Linked DNA regions of Homo sapiens: region 2 is linked to region 1. The links are contacts of gene promoters, found by promoter capture Hi-C in human tissues and cell types (Jung and others, 2019). All regions are on one chromosome and are shown on one strand. The core of a region is centred on a gene start or on the middle of the fragment in contact, and the rest is flanking DNA. Distances in the headings are between cores, read along the strand shown.

Region 1 (4,796 bases), core at 1,508-4,007:
CCCCTCCTGATGCCCTCTGGTAAATAGCATTAGCTTCCCAGCAGCAGGAGCCCCCAGTGTTACCCTTCTGGACTTGCTCCCTTCCCCACAACCAATCTCTCCTCTCTGTTTTCACCCAGAAGTGTCTTAAATCCGTTCCCTGCTCCCGTCCTGTTGACTCTGCCTTGCTCAAGTTCTCACCACCTCTTTCCTGGGCTCTGGTGGAGCTTCCTCATCAGTCCTCCAGGCTCATCTGTTCACTCCGGCCTTCCTACCAACAATCCCCTCCTCCCATGGCCTGCCTGGTGACTGTCTCATCCTTTAATAAAACTCAGACCTTCTCCAGGAAGCCTCCTGGGACTTCCCCAGGCAGGGTGAGTTGTTTTCTTCTCTGGCACTCTTCACTTACTCCATGACAGCATTTATCACAAGGTGTTGGAATTGCTGGTCAACATGTCTATGGACCGCATCCCCTTCATTGCAGCTCCTTCAAAGGCCTGGACAATGGTTTATACTTTCCATTCTTGGTGTCTAACAGAGGGGTTGATTTTCATTACATGGCAGGAAATGCTTGATGGAAAAAGGAAGGGAGGGATAAAGAGAGAATGGAAAAAGAATGGAAACTTTGCATGGTTGTAGATTCTTCAGTCCCTAAGCCACCCCTGTACCTTGTGAGAGGTAAAGGTTAGTTTCCCGGGAAGAAATTCTTATCACTGCATTACCCACTGTTCTCTGTCACAAGCATCATACATTGCTGATTGCACTTATAGTTTCTTCAGAGCTATTGAATTATAAGAAAGCAAAGGCCCAGGAAGATTAGGCGACTGCCTAAGGTCGCACAGCCAATTAATGACAAAGGCGAGACTAGAACCTGGGTCTCCTGGCACCAGGCCAGGGCCCTTGATACAACACCAACAGCCTCTCTTTGAGTTTTCCCTCCAGGCAGCAGCATGTAATTATCAACATTAGTATTTAGAATTTATATGCGGCTTTTGCTTCACTGGCTTTTTTATTATCCTTTCAATTAGTATTTCAGTATGCAGCCCAGGCATGGAGCACAGCCAGGGTGGGGAGGGGAGCAGCAGAGGGAGGCCAAGGCCAAGTAGGTGGCCATGAGCCCCTGTGAGAGGAAGGCCAGAGAAAGCAAAGGTACAGGAGGGTGGCCTGACATCAGAGACAATGTCTTGTGTGTGTGTCTGTGTGTGTCTATGTGTGTCTGTGTTGTGTGTGTGTCTGTATGTCTGTGTTTTGAGGAGGAGGGTGTCTGTGAAGATGAAGTATGGGCCTGAGATGAGTGGTCCAAGACCCTTGCTGGCCTCAGGGGGCTTCTCACTGCATTATCCACTAATGGGGCAGAGACAGGAAGAGCAATAATATATTTAGCACCCAACAAGTTAAACACCAATACCAGCCCTGAGACAGACCCCAGGATAAGGGAGTTCTCTGTCCTGCCTTGAAGGGAAGGAGACCCAAGCCCCATGATGTGGACTTGCTCCTGGCTCCTACTGTGCACTCTAGGAGCTACACCGAACTGTGCCAGATGCCCACATCCTGTGGGAGTGAAGGAGTCCTGGAGTCCACCATGCTATGTGCTATAGCATCCTCAGCTGGATGCTAGGAGACTAGTGGATGCTAGTGGAATCCCACTGCCAGACCCTGGTTCCTTGTGTCTTCCAGCCCCAGCTGCAGCCTGCTCTGTGGTTTACTTTGCAAACCCACACTTACCTTCAGAAAATGAGAATACTCTCTCCTCCTGACCTCCTGGGACTTTGGTGAGACTCAAGACCTTGTGAAGGCGCTCGAAGAATAGGTTCATCCACTGGTAACACTCAAGATAGGGCATCCCCATGCAAAAAAAAAAAAAAAAAAGGAAACGCAGGTGGAGGTGGATAAAGAGCAGCACAGGGTGGAGACAAAGCAGCCAAAAGGCCTGCATTCGGATCTCAGGGCTCTTGCTGGGAAAACTCAGGGGGACGCTCACTCACTGAGTGCCTATTGAGTGCCAATGTGTCACGTATGTCATCTCATTTTGTCCTCATATGACCCCTCACTTTGTCCATGAGGAACCTGAGGCTTTAAGAGGTTAGGTAACTTGCTCGAGGTTATACAGCAAGTGGGACCCTAGGACCAAAACTTAGGTCCATGAGCTTTAAAACCTGTGCCCTTCCCAGCACAGCACTGAATCTCCAAATCACAGGATTTCATCCTTGTGAGCCCAGCGTCCTGGTCTGCAAAATTGGAGGGGGAAGGGGGACAGGGGGAGGGGGGCAGGGGGAGGGGAAGAGGGGAAGAGGGGCACTATATTGCCTAATAGAGTTGTTAAGAAAATTAAATGAGCTTATGTTGATTAAACACATTATCGGGCTTGGTATCTGGTATATAGTAGGTGCTCAATAAATGCTTTCTGTTTGTTTTTCTTTTTAGGGCAGATCAATGTTAAAAACTCAGGGCTGGCTTTGGAGCCTAGGAGCTCCAAAATGCTTCAAGAAGCCCAAGGGCCTCCCATCGCTCTGGGGTGCGCGGGAGGAGGGGAGAGAAGGGCTGGGAAAGAGGGCTCGGCTCCAGGAAGCGGGTACGCGGGTTCCAGCTGCGCGCCCCTCGCTTCGCCGCCTCCTCCGGGCTCCCCCGACTTCCCGCCCCGCCCCGCCCCGGAGCCGGGTCCGGAGTGCCTGGTGGGCTGATTCCGGAGCGTGGAAGGGAGCACGGAGCACGGAAGCGAGAGGGAGGCGGCGGCGGCGGGAGGCGGGAAGGAGGGGGACCCTCCTCGCTGCTCTCCCAAGTCGGCGCGGAGCCGCCTCGGGCCGGGCCGAGGGCTGCGCGGCGGCGGCGGCGGCGGGGCCCGGCCAGGATGCGGGGCTCCCGGGACCGCGCGGGGCGGGGCGGGCGGCGGCGGCGGGCTGCGGGCGGGAGCTGTCCGCGGTGCTGAAGCGGCGGCTGCTCAGGGACGCGGGGACGAGAGCAGGGGAGCCCTCCTGGGAGTTCCACCGCGACCGCGAGGCGGGGGCGCCGTCGCTCACCGGCCCATGCCGAGCCCCCGAGCCCCGCGGAGGAGGCGGGACCGTCCGCGGCGGGACAGGTAAGGGGCGGTCTGGGGGCGCCGCGGGAGCGCAGAGCTAGGCACGGAGCGGGGAGTGAGCTGGGGAGGGCACGGGAGCCCTCTCGGGGCTAGGGGCTCTGACTCCCTGCTTGGCCGCACCTTGCGCTCCGCCAAGGCTTGCACTTCGTCCCTCCCTACCCCTCATCCTGCAGGCTGGGGGTGCTGGGAGGGGGCTGATGAACTGGGGTCAAGACACCATAACCTCACAACATCAGGCCTTGACCCTGACCTCAGGCAGCTCCTAGACATCCTGCCTACTGACGGCAAGAAATACTGATTAGAGCCTCAGACTCCCTGGTACCCCAGTCCCCACCAAGGTTTTGCGACACTAGCAAAATCTGAGCAGGCTTCACTAAGCTCCCCTCTTCTCGCACCCAAACCTGTTCACCCAGGTGACTGAGGTGGCTGTGGTACCCCCTGCTCTGAGATTTCTCTGCCCTGGAAATGGCTCTTGGGCCAAGGGATTGGCTCTTGGGCCAAGGCCCCTTAGGATGGATTAACCCATTTCTTCAGGGAAGGAAGGAGGTCCTGGAAGATACCTCAATTTTTTTTCCTATGACACTCTTGACGCTCACAGAAGCAGGCAGGATTTGCATCACATCTCTTGGCGCATGAGGGCAAAGAGTCAGGGAACCTGGGTCCTGTTTTCTATTATGTGCTGGTGACCCTAGACAGAGCCTCCATTAGGAGTTCTCTCTCTTTCTGGCAAGAGTGCGCTGAATGAGCTCATTCAGGCCTGCAAAGTGCTTCTAGTTCTTCAGAGCAGAGTTCTCTATGACTGGCAGAATGTAGCGATCAAAATAAAACTGCGTGGAGGAAGAATTGGCCTACCCTTGTGGCTGACCACTTCTTTCTACTGCTTTATCCCCACCCTCCAACCCAACACAACTTCCCTACCCCCAGGGGTAGAAAGAGCACTAGAGTAGGAGTTCCTGGCTGGGTGCTGGCATTTACTGGCTTTAGCTAGTTCCCTAAGCTCTTTCAACCTCATCCTCCTCACCCCTGGAGTGGGGATAAGGTCACCGCTCTGCTCACCTCAGGGAACTGCCTTGGGGCCCAATGAAAAACAATGCACCTGATTGGAGGCTTGCCACCTGTACATCTCCATACCAGTGTGCGCTGCTGTCACTGTTCCCAACCCCTAGCCAGGCCTGCTGTCAGTGACCTGATTATTGTCACCCCTACCCCCTCTTCTCCCAGCATGGCCATGTCTCCCTTTGTCCTTGGCCACCGTGGGGTCCCAGAATCAGTGAAGCCAAACTTATAAACCTTAAGGAGAAAAAAGTGTGCCCTCCCTTCTTCTCCTCTTCCATCATCACCTATAGGAGATAATATAAGGTAAGAGTCTGACTCACCGGTTTTTATTTTTTCTCCCTAAGAACCACAGATCTAGGGAAAGAGCTCCCTGAAGGCAGGAATTGTGTTGTTTTCATCTCTTTGTCCCCCTTCATGACCCCCTCCCCAACAGCACCTGGAAGATAGTAAGGACTCGGTAATCGGGTGTAAAATGAGGGAATGAAATGTTAAAGTGTATCAGAATAAAAGCATTTAACTGGGAGTCAGAAGCCCTGTGTTCTGGTCACAGATCCGCCGCTGTCTCAGGCAGGTCCATTCCCCTCTGGGGGTTCATTTTTCTCATCTGTAAAAGAAGAGAGTTGGGCTAGATGAGTTAAGATTTCAAGCCCTGATATTCTGTAGGGCTTTCTGAGGCTGTCCTAAA
Region 2 (4,796 bases), core at 707-3,206, 45 kb after region 1:
CTTTCGTTCAGCGAAGTGTTTTATTCATGTCACATGTATCAGTAGTTTATTTCTTTTTATTAATGAATAGTGTCCTTTGTATAGATAAAAATAGTGTTTTAGCATTTTCTTACTGATAAACATTTGAGTTGTTTCCAGTTTGGAGTTTTTAGGAATAAAGCTTCCATGGGCTGGATGCAGTGGCTCACACCTGTAATCCCAGCACTTTGGGAGGCCAAGGTGGGTGTATAACTTGAGTTCAGGAGTTGAAACCAGCCCGGCCAACGGATGAAACCCCACCTACTAAAAATACAAAAATTAGCCAGGCGTGGTGGTGCATGCCTGTAATCCCAGCTACTCCAGAGAGTGAGGAAGAAGAATTATTTGAACCCAGAGGGGAAGGTTGCAGTGAGCCAAAATCATGCTGTTGCACGCCAGCCTGGGCGACAAGAACAAAACTTGGTCTTAAAAAAAAAAAAAAAAAGCTTCCATTAACATTCTTATACAATATTTTTTGTGGAAATATATTTTCTTTTCTCTCAGGTAAATACCTAGAGGTGAAAATATTGAGTCAGAGGGTAAGCATATATTTAGTTTTTTTAAGAAACTCCCGGGCCAGGCACGGTGGCTGACACCTGTAATCCCAGCACTTTGGGAGGCCGAGGCAGGTGGATCACGAGGTCAGGAGATGGAGACCATCCTGGCTAACAGGGTGAAAACCCGTCTCTACTAAAAATACAAAAAATTAGCCGGGCATGGTGGCGGGCACCTGTAGTCCCAGCTACTCGGGAGGCTGAGGCAGGAGAATGGCATGAACCCGGGAGGCAGAGCTTGCAGTAAACCGAGATCGTGCTACTGCACTCCAGCCTGGGCACACAGCGAGACTCTGTCTCAAAAAAAAAAAAAGGAAAAAAAAAAAGAAACTCCCAAGCCTTTCCCATCAACAATGTATGACAGTTCCAGTTGCTCCATATCCTCATATTTAGTCTTACCAGTCTTTCTTAAGTTTAGCTGTGGGCCAGGTGTGGTGGCTCATGCTTGTAATCCCAGCACTTCAGGAGGCTGAGGTGGGAGGATTGCCTTGAGCTAAGGAGCTCAAGACTAGCTTGGGCAATATAGTGAGACCTTGTCTCTCTAAAAAATTAGCCCCAGTTACTTGGGGGACTGAGGTGGGAGAATCACTTGAGCCCAAGAGGTTGAGGCTGCAGTGACCCACGATTGTGTCACTGAACTTCAGTCTGGGTGACAGAGCAAGACCCTGTCTCAAAAAAAAAAATTTCAGCCAGCCTATCTCATTGTGGGTTTTTTGTTTGTTTGTTTGTTTGTTTGTTTTTGTAGAGGCGGCGGGGGGGGGTCGGGTCTCCCTATTTTGCCCAGGCTGGTGTCAAACTCCTGGCCTCAAGTGATCCTCCCACCTCAGCCTCCCAAAGTGAGGGGATTACAGATGTGGGCCACCACTCCTGGCCCTCATTGTGATTTTAATTTTCATTTCCCTTGTGTCTTACGATTTTGAGCACAATTTCATGTACTTATTGGCCACATGTATATCTTTTTTTGTGAAGTGTCGGTTCATATTTTTTGTCAATTTTGTTGTAATTGAGTCATTTGTCTTTATTAAGTTGCAGAAATTCTCTTATATCCTGTCTACCAGTTCTTTGTCAGGTATGTTTTACGAATATTTTTTCCCAATTTGTAGCTTGCCTGTTTGTTTTCTTAATGGCATTTCTCAACCCAGGAATCTGGGGTTTGTTTGTTTTTTTTTTTTTTTGGAGACGGAGTCTCGCTCTGTCGCCAGGCTGGAATGCAGTGGCGCGATCTCAGCTCGCTGCAACCTCCGCCTCCCAGGTTCAAGCAATTCTCCTGCCTCAGCCTCCTGAGTAGCTGGGATTACAGGCGCCCGCCACTACACCCAGCTAATTTTTGTATTTTTAGTAGAGACAGGGTTTCACCATGTTGGTCAGGCTGGTCTCGAACCCCTGACCTCGTGATCCACCCGCCTCGGCCTCCCAAAGTGCTGGGATTACAGGTGTGAGCCACCGCGCCCGGCCTGGGTTTTTTTTTTTTTTTTTAAACTTTTTATTGACATATACATAAAGTACCCAAACACAAGTATACAGCTTGGCAAATTCTCACAAACTGAACACACCCATGTACTAGAATTTGGTTTAAGAAACAGCATTTCTGGCAAGGGTAGTGGCACATGCCTATAATCCCAGCTACTTGGGAGGCTAAGACGGGAGGATCACTTGAGCCCCAGAAATTTAGGGCTCCAGTGAGCTCTGACAGAGTGAGCCCTGTCTCTAAAAAAAAATACAGAGCATGGCCGGGCGCGGTGATTCATGCCTGTAATCCCAGCACTTTGGGTGGCTGGGGTGGGAGGATCACGAGGTCGGGAGTTCGAGATCAGCCTGGCCAATGTGGTGAAACCCCGTCTCTACTAAAAACACAAAAGGTATCCAGGCATAGTGGCATGCTCCTGTAATCCCAGCCACTCGAGAGGCTGAGGTAGGAGAATCGCTTGAACCCAGGAGGCGGAGACTGCAGTGAGCCGAGATGTGCCATTGCATTCCAGCCTAGGCGACACAGCAAGACTCTGTCTCAAAAAAAAAAAAAAAACCAGAGCATTTCCAACACACCGTAAGTGCCCCCTCATGCTTCCTTCCAAGTACTATCTCTCCCCAAAGGTGACCATTATCCTGACTTCTAACAGCATAAATTAGTTTTGCTTGTTTTTGTGCTTTACATAAATGGAATAATACCATAACTCCTCTTTCATATCTGGCTTCTTTAGCTCAACATGTTTTTTTAAGATTGATCCACATTGTTGAGTATAGCTGTAGATCATTCATTCTCATTATCACGTAGCATTCCATTATGTAACTACACCACAGCTTATTTATCCATCCTACTGTTGACGGGCATTCAGATTATTTCCTTTGGTTATTATGAAAAGTTTTTATGAATATTCTTAAACACATTCTTGCTAAACATATGTTTACATTCTGTTCGGTATGTACAGTCATGCATTACTTAACAACAGTGATACATTCCAAGAAATTCGATGCTAGGTAATTTTGTCATTGTGCGAACGTGATAGAATGCACTTACGCAAACCTAAGTGGTGCAGCCTACTACACATGCAGGCTATGTGCTACAGCCTATTGCTCCTAGGCTACAAATCTATACCGCACGTTGCTGGACTGAACACTGTAGCCAATTACAATGCAATGATAAGTATTTGTGTATCTAAACATAGAAAAGGTACAGTAAGGCCAGGCACGGCCTGTACTCCTGAGTAGCTGTTGGGATTACACCTGCAATCCCAACACTTTGGGAGGCCAAGGCGGGAGGATTACTTGAGCCCAGGAGTTCAAGACCAGCCTAGGCAACATAGTGAGACCTCATCTCTACAAAAAAAAAAAAAAAAAAATCAAAAAATTAGCTAGGCATGGTGGCGCACACCTGTGGTCCCAGTTACTCTGGAGGCTGAGGTGAGAAGATTGCTTGAGCTTGGGAACTTGAGGCTGCAGTGAGCCTTGATCCCACCACTGCACTCCAGCCTGGTTAACAGAGTGAGATCTTGTCTCAGATAAATTTATTTATTTTAAAAAGGTACAGTAAAACCATGGAGGTACAGTAAAACCATGGTATAAAATATTTTCTTTTTAATTATACACCTGTATAGGGCACTTACTATGAAGGGAGTTTGCAGGACCGGAAGTTGCTCTGGGTGAGTGAGTGAGTGAGTGGTGAGTGACCGTAAAGGCTTAGGGCATGACTGTGCTCTACTCCAGATCATATAAACGCTGTATATTTAGGCTACACTAAATTAATTTTTAAATTTTTTCTTTTTTTTTTACTTTTTCTTTTGAGATAGAGTCTCACTCTGTCACCCAGGCTGGAGTGCAGTGGCACAACCTCACCTCACTGAAACCTCCGTCTCCTGGGTTAAAGTGATTCTCCTGCTTCAGCTTCCCAAGTAGCTGGGATTACAGGCGCCTGCCACCACCCCCGGCTAATTTTTGTAATTTTAGGATAGATGGGGTTTCACCATGCTGACCAGGCTGGTCTCAAACTCCTGAGCTCATGATTCATCTACCTCAGCCTCCCAAAGTGGTGGGATTACAGGTGTGAGCTGCAGCGCCCGGCCACTTTTTTTCTGTTCTCTTTTTTTTTCTTTTTTTTTGAGACAGAGTCCCCCTCTGTCGCCCAGGCTGGAATGCAGTGGCGCGATCTCGGCTCACTGCAAGCTCCGCCTCCCAAGTTCACGCCATTCTCCTGCCTCAGCCTCCCGAGTAGCTGGAACTACAGGCACCCACCACCACACCCGGCTAATTTTTTTGAATTTTTAGTAGAGATGGGGTTTCACCGTGTTAGCCAGGATGGTCTCGATCTCCTGACCTCGTGATCCGCCCACCTCGGCCTCCCAAAGTGCTGGGATTACAGGCATGAGCCACCGCACCCGGCCTTTTTTTCTGTTTAAAATTATTTTGGGGGCTGGGCGCAGTGGCTCACGCCTGTAATCCCAGCACTTTGGGAAGCCAAGGTGGGTTGATCACTTGAAGCCAGGAGTTCGAGACCAACCTGAACGATACAGTGAAACCCCATCTCTACTAAAAATACAAAAATTAGCCGGGCGTGGTGATGGGTGCCTGTAATCCCAGCTACTTGGGAGGCTGAGGCAGGAGAATCGCTTGAACCCGGGAGGCAGAGGTTGCAGTAAGCTGAGATCATGCCACTGCACTCCAGCCGGGGCAACAGAGAAAGACTCCAACTCAAAAATAAATAAATAAATAAACATTTTATATTTTAAACTT

The links. The method cuts DNA at HindIII sites, captures the fragments that hold promoters and counts their contacts. A contact is called where the count stands out against the background at its distance.
Region 2: a fragment that was not itself captured here is called in contact with the fragment with the promoter of SYNDIG1L in region 1 in 2 of the 25 tissues and cell types used here (lymphoblastoid cells and mesendoderm cells).

Annotation. Positions count from the first base shown.
Region 1 is chr14:74,424,171-74,428,966 of GRCh38, reverse strand. SYNDIG1L (synapse differentiation inducing 1 like) reads left to right here and starts at 2,757. Exons shown (of 4, transcript NM_001105579.2): 1 at 2,757-3,055. The HindIII fragment of the contact is 14,133 bases long and covers 1-4,796 here.
Region 2 is chr14:74,378,648-74,383,443 of GRCh38, reverse strand. No RefSeq gene overlaps it. Among named protein-coding and RNA genes, the nearest start is that of VRTN, 33 kb to the right of the region's middle. The HindIII fragment of the contact is 3,288 bases long and covers 313-3,600 here.